2 separate regions of the Homo sapiens genome follow, and region 2 is linked to region 1. Evidence: promoter capture Hi-C in 16 types of primary human blood cells and fetal thymus (Javierre and others, 2016). All regions are on one chromosome and are shown on one strand. The core of a region is centred on a gene start or on the middle of the fragment in contact, and the rest is flanking DNA. Distances in the headings are between cores, read along the strand shown. Region 1 holds the start of XNDC1N (XRCC1 N-terminal domain containing 1, N-terminal like). Region 2 has its middle 12 kb from the start of CLPB.

What was found. The method cuts DNA at HindIII sites, captures the fragments that hold promoters and counts their contacts. A CHiCAGO score of 5 or more calls a contact.
Region 2: a fragment that was not itself captured here is called in contact with the fragment with the promoter of XNDC1N in region 1 in 1 of 17 cell types (fetal thymus); the score reaches 5.1 in fetal thymus.

The regions. Positions count from the first base shown.
Region 1 is chr11:71,925,965-71,930,066 of GRCh38, reverse strand. XNDC1N (XRCC1 N-terminal domain containing 1, N-terminal like) reads left to right here and starts at 1,473. Exons shown (of 6, transcript NM_001375847.2): 1 at 1,473-1,702. RNF121 (ring finger protein 121) reads right to left here and starts at 1,021. Exons shown (of 9, transcript NM_018320.5): 1 at 943-1,021. The coding sequence starts at 1,005. It overlaps XNDC1N-ZNF705EP-ALG1L9P (XNDC1N-ZNF705EP-ALG1L9P readthrough), which reads left to right and starts at 1,473. Exons shown (of 11, transcript NR_172895.1): 1 at 1,473-1,702. RefSeq lists an enhancer at 1,331-1,640. The HindIII fragment of the contact is 13,024 bases long and covers 1,208-4,102 here.
Region 2 is chr11:72,445,058-72,448,740 of GRCh38, reverse strand. No RefSeq gene overlaps it. Among named protein-coding and RNA genes, the nearest start is that of CLPB, 12 kb to the right of the region's middle. The HindIII fragment of the contact is 1,804 bases long and covers 1,459-3,262 here.

The sequences.
Region 1 (4,102 bases), core at 224-2,723:
CCTTCAAGGACCACTGGTATTTTAATACACCAGTCTTTAAATGCCTATTAGATAGGTAAAGGGAACATACAATCTCAAGGAGCTCACCTTCAAGGAACTCATAAATCCAGAAGAAGAGAGAGACACTTATTTATCGTTTAAAACTCAGCAACTCCGGGAAGCCTTCCCTATCCCAAGCTGAAATGTTGCACACTTCTCAGTGCCACCATTATATCTCTAATGCAATGACTAGTCTTCTTGTCTGTCTCCCACCACTAGACTGTGGGCTCTTCAACGGAGGGGCCCCTTGTCTCCCTAGCACCTGGCCCAGAACCCGGAGCAAAAGTCATAATGTTTATTAAGTGAATAAATGCATGAATTCCGGCATACAATCATTTATTCATCCACTTGTTCCTTCATTCGTTGGCCAAAACTTTACTGAGCATGCATTAGATACAAAGTCTTAGAATGGAACGATAAATAAAACAGTTCCAACTTTAAGATAACTCAAAGCTATACTACTAGTGGATTAGCACTCTTTCCCGGTCTGTGTCCCCAACCCCCACCCTAGGCTTAGACAGAGTCCTCTCCCACAGTAGAAGCCCAGCCTTCCCCTGAAGAAATTCACGTCCCTCCAACTCAAACTACCTCTTAGCCCTTCGGTCCTACCCTAAGACACCCAGCTAGTAATCACAAAATCTTAACACCCCCACCCCTCCGACCTCTCTCTCTGTCCTCCATCTTCACCCTTGAGGCTAATGCAAGTCTTCTACTCCCAAGGCCGCCTCGGAGTCCCCAAGTCAGGAGTGCCTCTGACTTCGCTCTCCACGCACCCGCCCCCTAGTCAGCTCCTTCCCTCTCAGGATCTTTCCCTTCTCTCCTAAGACCCCCACCTCCCGATACCTCACTGCCCCTCCCCTCAGTCTCAGGTTGAGTCTCTCCTCGTCTCTCAACTCCGCTTACCTCATCCAGCTCCCGTTCCCCAGCAGCACCACCTCCAACCTCCACCTCCACCACTGCCGCCATCTTCACGGCTCGCCCCCTCACCGCAGTCCCCGCGCGAGCCAGCTGCTTCCGCTGCTCAAGTGCTCCTAGCCAATCGGCGGCTCGGACTCCAGCAGAGGGGGCGGGGCATCAACACAGGCGGAGACTGTCAGGGATCAGGAGGTTATCTACTTGCTGCACGTTTCAGGGTCAAGGAGAGGGGAGTACCGTGCCCTTGCAAGCTTCAGCAAGGGAGCGTTCTTGGAAAATGAGAAATTTGAATCGCATTATTTTCAGTGCAACTATTTAACCAATTCTTCCCTTTGGAGAGCCAAATGGGAGCGTTCCAAAACGGGCAACTTTCGCGACGCTCCCTCAGTCTGGGCTCCAAGGAGCGAGACGTGGGGACTAGGAACTACGTTTCCCAAGCTGCACTGAGGCTGACCCGGAAGTTTAAATTCCGCTCCCTCCACGAAAGAGTTGTAGTGAGTGAAAATAAATATTAAAACACACGGAAATGTATTTTCCTGGCTGCAGCACCTGCCATCTTGCCTCGGTAGGACTCATTTTCAAAAACAGCAGCTTCTTGAAGCCCCAGAACGCATTCCTGTGCTACGGAAGACGGAAGAGTAGCTCTCGGGGTCAGAAGGCGAAGGTCAGAAGGCCGAATTGGCGGGAGAATAGGTTTGGTGGTCCGAGATCCGAGGCAACGGTGGCTCCTCGAGGTCCACGGTCCCGGGTGAGGGGCGTTGGGATTTGTTGATGGGGAGGGGAGTGGCCGAGAGGGAGGAGGGTGGCCATCAAGGAAATGAACTGAGCAGCCTGTTCCCGATGAGCTGTGAAAGCAGCGGTGCGGCTTGAGCTCCCGAAACTGAGAGCTGAAGAGCCTTGCGGGACCTCCAGGGCACCCACATTCCGCGTCTTACTTAGGCTGTCATGCCAGTTCACACACCTCGGCACACTTTTCTAACCCACATCCTGCGGCCCCAGCTTCTGCCTTACCCTCCTTTTTATACACCATTCACTGTCCCACCCCTACGTATACCTTCATAACTGATTTTTCAGCAGCCGGTGAACTCGATACCTTGCAAGCCTGTAGCCCCAGCTCACACGCCTCTGGGCGTCCGCCTGGATCTGTCTGGTGAATGGAACTAGGATGGCCTGTGAGCCCACAGAACGTCTAGAAAAGTCAGCTTTACATTGGGACCAACAGAAAATTACAGGGAATTATCTACATCATCCACAGGCATCCCATTTACTTAAAAATAATCATTTTTATTTTGTGACACTTAATACGGAGAATATTGTAAATACTGTACACCCATCACCCTAAATTGACTACTGGCATTATGATTTATTTGCTTATTTTTTAAAAGCTAGATAATACAATAAAAGTTAAACTTACCTGTTTTTTCTACTCTCAAGCCTATTACCCTCTCATCCTCTCCAGAAGCAACTATTATGAATTAGAATTAGCTTGTGTTCTCCCAGTCCATTTTTAATAATTATATGTAGCCATGACTATATAGTATTGTATTGTGTTTCATTTTGTTTTTTAATCTGAGTGCTTTTTTTTTTTCTTTGAAACGGTGTCTCGCTGTGTTACCAAGGCTGGAATGCACTGGTTCAATCTGGGCTCACTGCAGCCTCCGCCTACTGGGTTCAAACGATTCTCATGTCTCAGCCTCCCAAATAGCTGGGACTACGTACGCGCCACCACGCCTGGGGAAATTTCATATTTTTAGCAGAGATGGGGTCATGGCCATGGTCTCGAACTCCTGACCTTAAGTGATCCACCCGCCTCGGCCTCCCAAAGTGCTGGGATTACAGGTGTGAACCACTGTGCCCAGCCTGAGTGATACAGGGTCCGGCTCTGTCGCCCAGGCTGGAGTGCAGTGGCGTGATAACTGCTCACTGTAGTCTCATCTCCCAGGCTCAAGCAATTCTCCCACCTCAACCTTGTGAGTACCTGGGACTATAGGCATGTGCCACCACACCTGGCTAATTTTTAAAAATATTTTGTGGAGATGGGGTCCCACTATGTTGCTGGTCTTGAACTCCTGGGTTCAAGCAATCCTCCTGAGCCTCCGCCTCCCAAAGTGTTGAGATTACAGGCGTGAGCCACTGTACCCAGCCTTTTAGGTATAATTATTTGTCTTTTATTTTATTTTATTTTATTTTATTTTATTTTATTTCATTTTTTGAGACAGAATCTCACTTTGTCACCCAGGCTGGAGTACAGAGGGGTGATCTTGGCTCACTGCAACCTTTGCCTCCCGGGTTCAAGTGATTCTCCTGCCTCAGCCTCCTCAGTAGCTGGGATTACAGGCATGTGCCACCACACCCAGCTAATTTTTGTATTTTGAGTAGAGACAGGGTTTCACCATGTTGGCCAGGCTGGTCTCAAACTCCTGACCTCAAGTGATCCACCCACGTCAACCTCCCAAAATGCTGGGATTACAGGTGTGAGCCACCACGCCCAGCCTAGGTATAATTTTTTAGATACGTTGTGAGGTAGGGATCTACTTTTATTTTTCTTCACATTGTCAACCAATTTCCTGAACATCATTTATTACTTTATTGTTTCTGACAGAATCATGATGCTGCTCTGAAGTGTGGGAGATCATGAACATGACAAAAATCCACATCCTCAAAGAGCTTGCTACTTAGTGAGAAGGCATACAGGGTAAACGAGTAATTACCAAAAAATGGCAGCAACAGTTTTTGTAAGGGAAGGAGTTCTCAAAGAACTTAATCTTGTGAGAACTACAAGCAGTTTGATTGTCAGGATTGCCAAACCAAGAGTGTTTATTTATTTATGTATTTATTTATTTTTGAGACAGGGTTTCACTGTCTCCCAGGCTGGAGTGTGATGGTGCAATCTCAGCTCACTGCAACCTCTGCCTCCCAAGCTCAAGCAATCCTCCTGCCTCAGCCTCCTGAGTAGCTTGGACTCCAGGCACACGCCACCACATTTGGCTAATTTTTTTTTTTTTCAGAGATGGGATTTCGCCATGTTGCCCAGGCTGATCTTGAACTCCTGGGCTGAAGATATCCACCCTCCTCGGCCTCCCAATGTGCTGGGATTACAGGCCTGAGCCACCATGCCTGGCCCAAGTGTTCATTGATGATGAGAGAT
Region 2 (3,683 bases), core at 1,111-3,610, 520 kb before region 1:
TATGTGAGAGTGCACCCTCGCACACATCACAGCTCAGAATGTATCATATTGGCTCAGCACTGTGTTGACTATACTTTCAATTCTTCTCTTCCTCCATACCTTAGGCAAACTTCAAGGATATCTATCACATGTGGATCTTTGTTTTTTCCTAGGAGCTGGGATTTTGTAGTGGTAAACAGTCTGGGCTTTGGATTCAGACCATTTGAGCCCCATTTTTGCCATTTACAAGCTAGGTGACCCTGGCCAAATTACTTAACCTTTATATATATATATATATACATATATTTTTTTTTTTTTTTTGAGACTGACATGCTGCATACTTCACTAGCAAGGCTGCTCCATTTTGGGTTTTTTGAATCTGTAAAGTGGAGAGAATCTCTTCCTCATAGGATTGTTGTTGGAATTAATGTAGCATAAGCAGCAAAAGCAGAGTCTTGCTCATAGTAAGCACTCAGTAAACACGTACACACATTTATTTGCCCATGAACAGACAGAGGGCTACTACCGAGAGACGCAGCTTTCAATGCCAGGGCTCATCCACCATCCCCACCCCAGGCCCCACCCTGCTCTACTAAGCTGGAGAGACGGAGAGAGGCTCTGATGCAGGAATCATTTTCATCTATCAGCTTTATCTATCAACATGAGCAGAGTGGACAGTTCCTCTGAGATCTGAATTATCACCTCCTGACCCAAAGTGCCTTCTCTGTCTTCTCCCTAGCACCAAGGCTGCAGAAAACAAGCAATGTGGAAGGAAGGAAGGAGAGGGAAATAAGGAGCAAGAGAGGGAAAGCAGTTGGCTAAGCTTTGTGCCCAGTTGGAAGAAGCAGAGTGGCAGTAGGCATGGGGTCTAGTAAAGGCTCGTGGAGCAAAGTCTTCATGATGAGTATAAGAGAAAATGGTTAAGTCATTTAGCCCTGGGTTCAAATTCTTGGTGCACTAAGTACTTGCTGGGAGAACCTAGTAAGTTACTTAACCCCTCTGGTTCAGCCTCATTATCCCCTCTTAGCCCCTCCCACTCTACACTTAATCCACACTGAACACTCAGTTCCTCAAACATGCATTGCCAAAAAAAAAAAAAAAAAAAAAAAGAATTGCACTCTTGCCTCTGCTCATTTGCCCGTAGGGTTCCCTTTACCTACAGTGACCCTATTCTCCAAGTGCCCCACCCTACATCAGCTACTGTAATCCCTTTCGTCTGGTCAATTCTAGCTCCTCCTGCAGAGCTCAGCTTAGATGTCACTTCCTTCAGGAAGCCTTCTCTGACCACTCGGCTTGCTATGTGCTCCCAGGGACACCAGAATTATCTCAATCGTGGCACTCACCACTCTCTGCTGACATGGCCTATTGTCTGCATGCCCCTCCAGAGCTCCATGGCTTCTTCATGACTACAGTTTCAGTAACCCATGCCTTACAGGTGCTCAATAAATGAGGCTGAATATTATTGAAACTTTGTAAGCTTTAGAGAGTTGGACAAAAGCCCAGCATAGGCATTGAATGCCAAATAATTTGTTGAGAAGAATGGAGTGGAGTGGAATGGAATGGAATGGTGAATATGCTGATTTTAATGCTATTTCACTGCATTATCCCAAAAGCCCACAAGATGTCAGTGTCTCTACTTGAGAAAAAATGTGGCAGTCTGGATGAAATTAAAAGCACTCCCTCTACCTGATGGCAGAAGTAGTTTAAAGTTAATATTGATATAGAAATAATAGGGATTGGTTGATTGGATTGAATATGTAATATGTACATATAGAACAGAATTCAAGTATACAGTGGAAAGTAAACTCTTCTTCCCTCCCTACTTCTGTCCCTTTTCCTCCAGCCCCACTTTGCCCAACCCATGGGCAACAATTTTTATTATACACATGGGATGGATATCCTTCTAGGGATATCCTAGGTATAAAACCACATAAGTAGATGTATATTTCTTTTTTTTTTTTTTTTTTTTTTTTTTGTTGAGACGGAGTCTCGCTCTGTAGCCCAGGCTGGAGTGCAGTGGCGTGATCTCGGCTCACTGCAAGCTCCACCTCCCAGGTTCATGCCATTCTCCTGCTTCAGCCTCCCGAGCAGCTGGGACTACAGGCACCGGCCACCACGCCCGGCTAATTTTTGTTTTTTTTTTGTATTTTTAGTAGAGACGGGGTTTCACTGTGTTAGCCAGGATGGTCTCGATCTCCTGACCTCATGATCCGCCCGCCTCGGCCTCCCAAAGTGCTGGGATTATAGGCATGAGCCACTGCGCCTGGCCAAGTAGATATATATTTCAAATAACACCAGTGGTTGTATACAACTGTTCTGCGCCTTGAACTTTTTTGTACCTAAAATATCTCGGTGCATTCCATATTAAAACAGTGTTACCCTGTTTAAAAAAATATTCCATTGTTTAGCTTTAATGTATTTGACCAATGTCCCAGTGATGGACATTCAGATGGCTTCTCATCTCTTTCTCTTACAAATATCTCAAACCATTCCTCATTTTATACACCTGCAAGTATATCTAGATTTTAAATTCCAATATTTTGATATTATCAATTAGCCCTCCATTGAAGTTGTACCTATTTACATTTCCAGCAACAATATGAGTGTTTTTTCTTTACAAACTTGCCACGCAGTTTTTTTTATATATATATATATATATATACACACATATATAATACGTAATAATACATGCAGTATATATGCCAGTCTGAGGTGAACTATATCTCATTATAGCTTTTTGAAACAGCTTTATTGAAGTATAACTGACATACAGTAAATTTCACGTTTAAAGTGTAAATTTGATGAATTTTGACATATGTACCCCTCTGAAACCATCACCACAATCAAGATGACTATATCCATCACTTCCAAAAGTTTCTTGTGCCCCTTTGTAAACCCTTCCTCCCACTACCCCTGTAATCCTATCATCCCCATGCAATCACTGTTCTGCTTTATGTTACTATATACAGTATTTGCTTTTATTTTCTAGAATCTTATAAAATTGGATAATACAATGTGTAGTCTGTGTTTGCTTGCTTGCTTATTTATTTGTAGAACTGACTTGCTTCATTCAGCATTAATATCTTGAGGTTCATCCATGTCATTGTGCATATCAATAGTTCCTTTTTATTGCTGAGTCACACTCCATTGTATGGATATACCACAATTTGTTTATCCTTTTATGTATTGATAGAAGTTTAGGTTGTTTTTGAAACCAATCCAATAGTCCCAAAGATGGTTCTTTTTGATAAACATAGAAATTGACCCTCCTGATCTTAAAGCTTGAAATTTATATTTGTTTTATCTGAGTTCCTTCCTCAGGAAACAACCTTCAGGCCTCTGGAAAAAGTATCAAAGAACTGAAACTCAATGGATCACAGCACCAGATGACAACCCCTCATTCATTATGATTGCTTCCTTTGCCCCTCCCTAGTTCCTGTTTTTTTACACATTGTTACATTTCTTCCCTGATGTATAAACCCCTAGTTTTAATCAGTCAGGGAGATGGATTTGAGACTGAGCTCCCATCTTCTAGGCTGTAGCACCAAGAAAGGGGAGCAGCAGGCCTGACCTAAGCCACACCCCTGACCTAGACCAAACCCTTGACCTAGACCAAACCTCTAGTATATGGAAGAAGCAGGACCCTCCCTGGACCTAGACCAAACCCCTGGTGTTTTGGTAATATTTTTAGTTTGTAGCTTTTA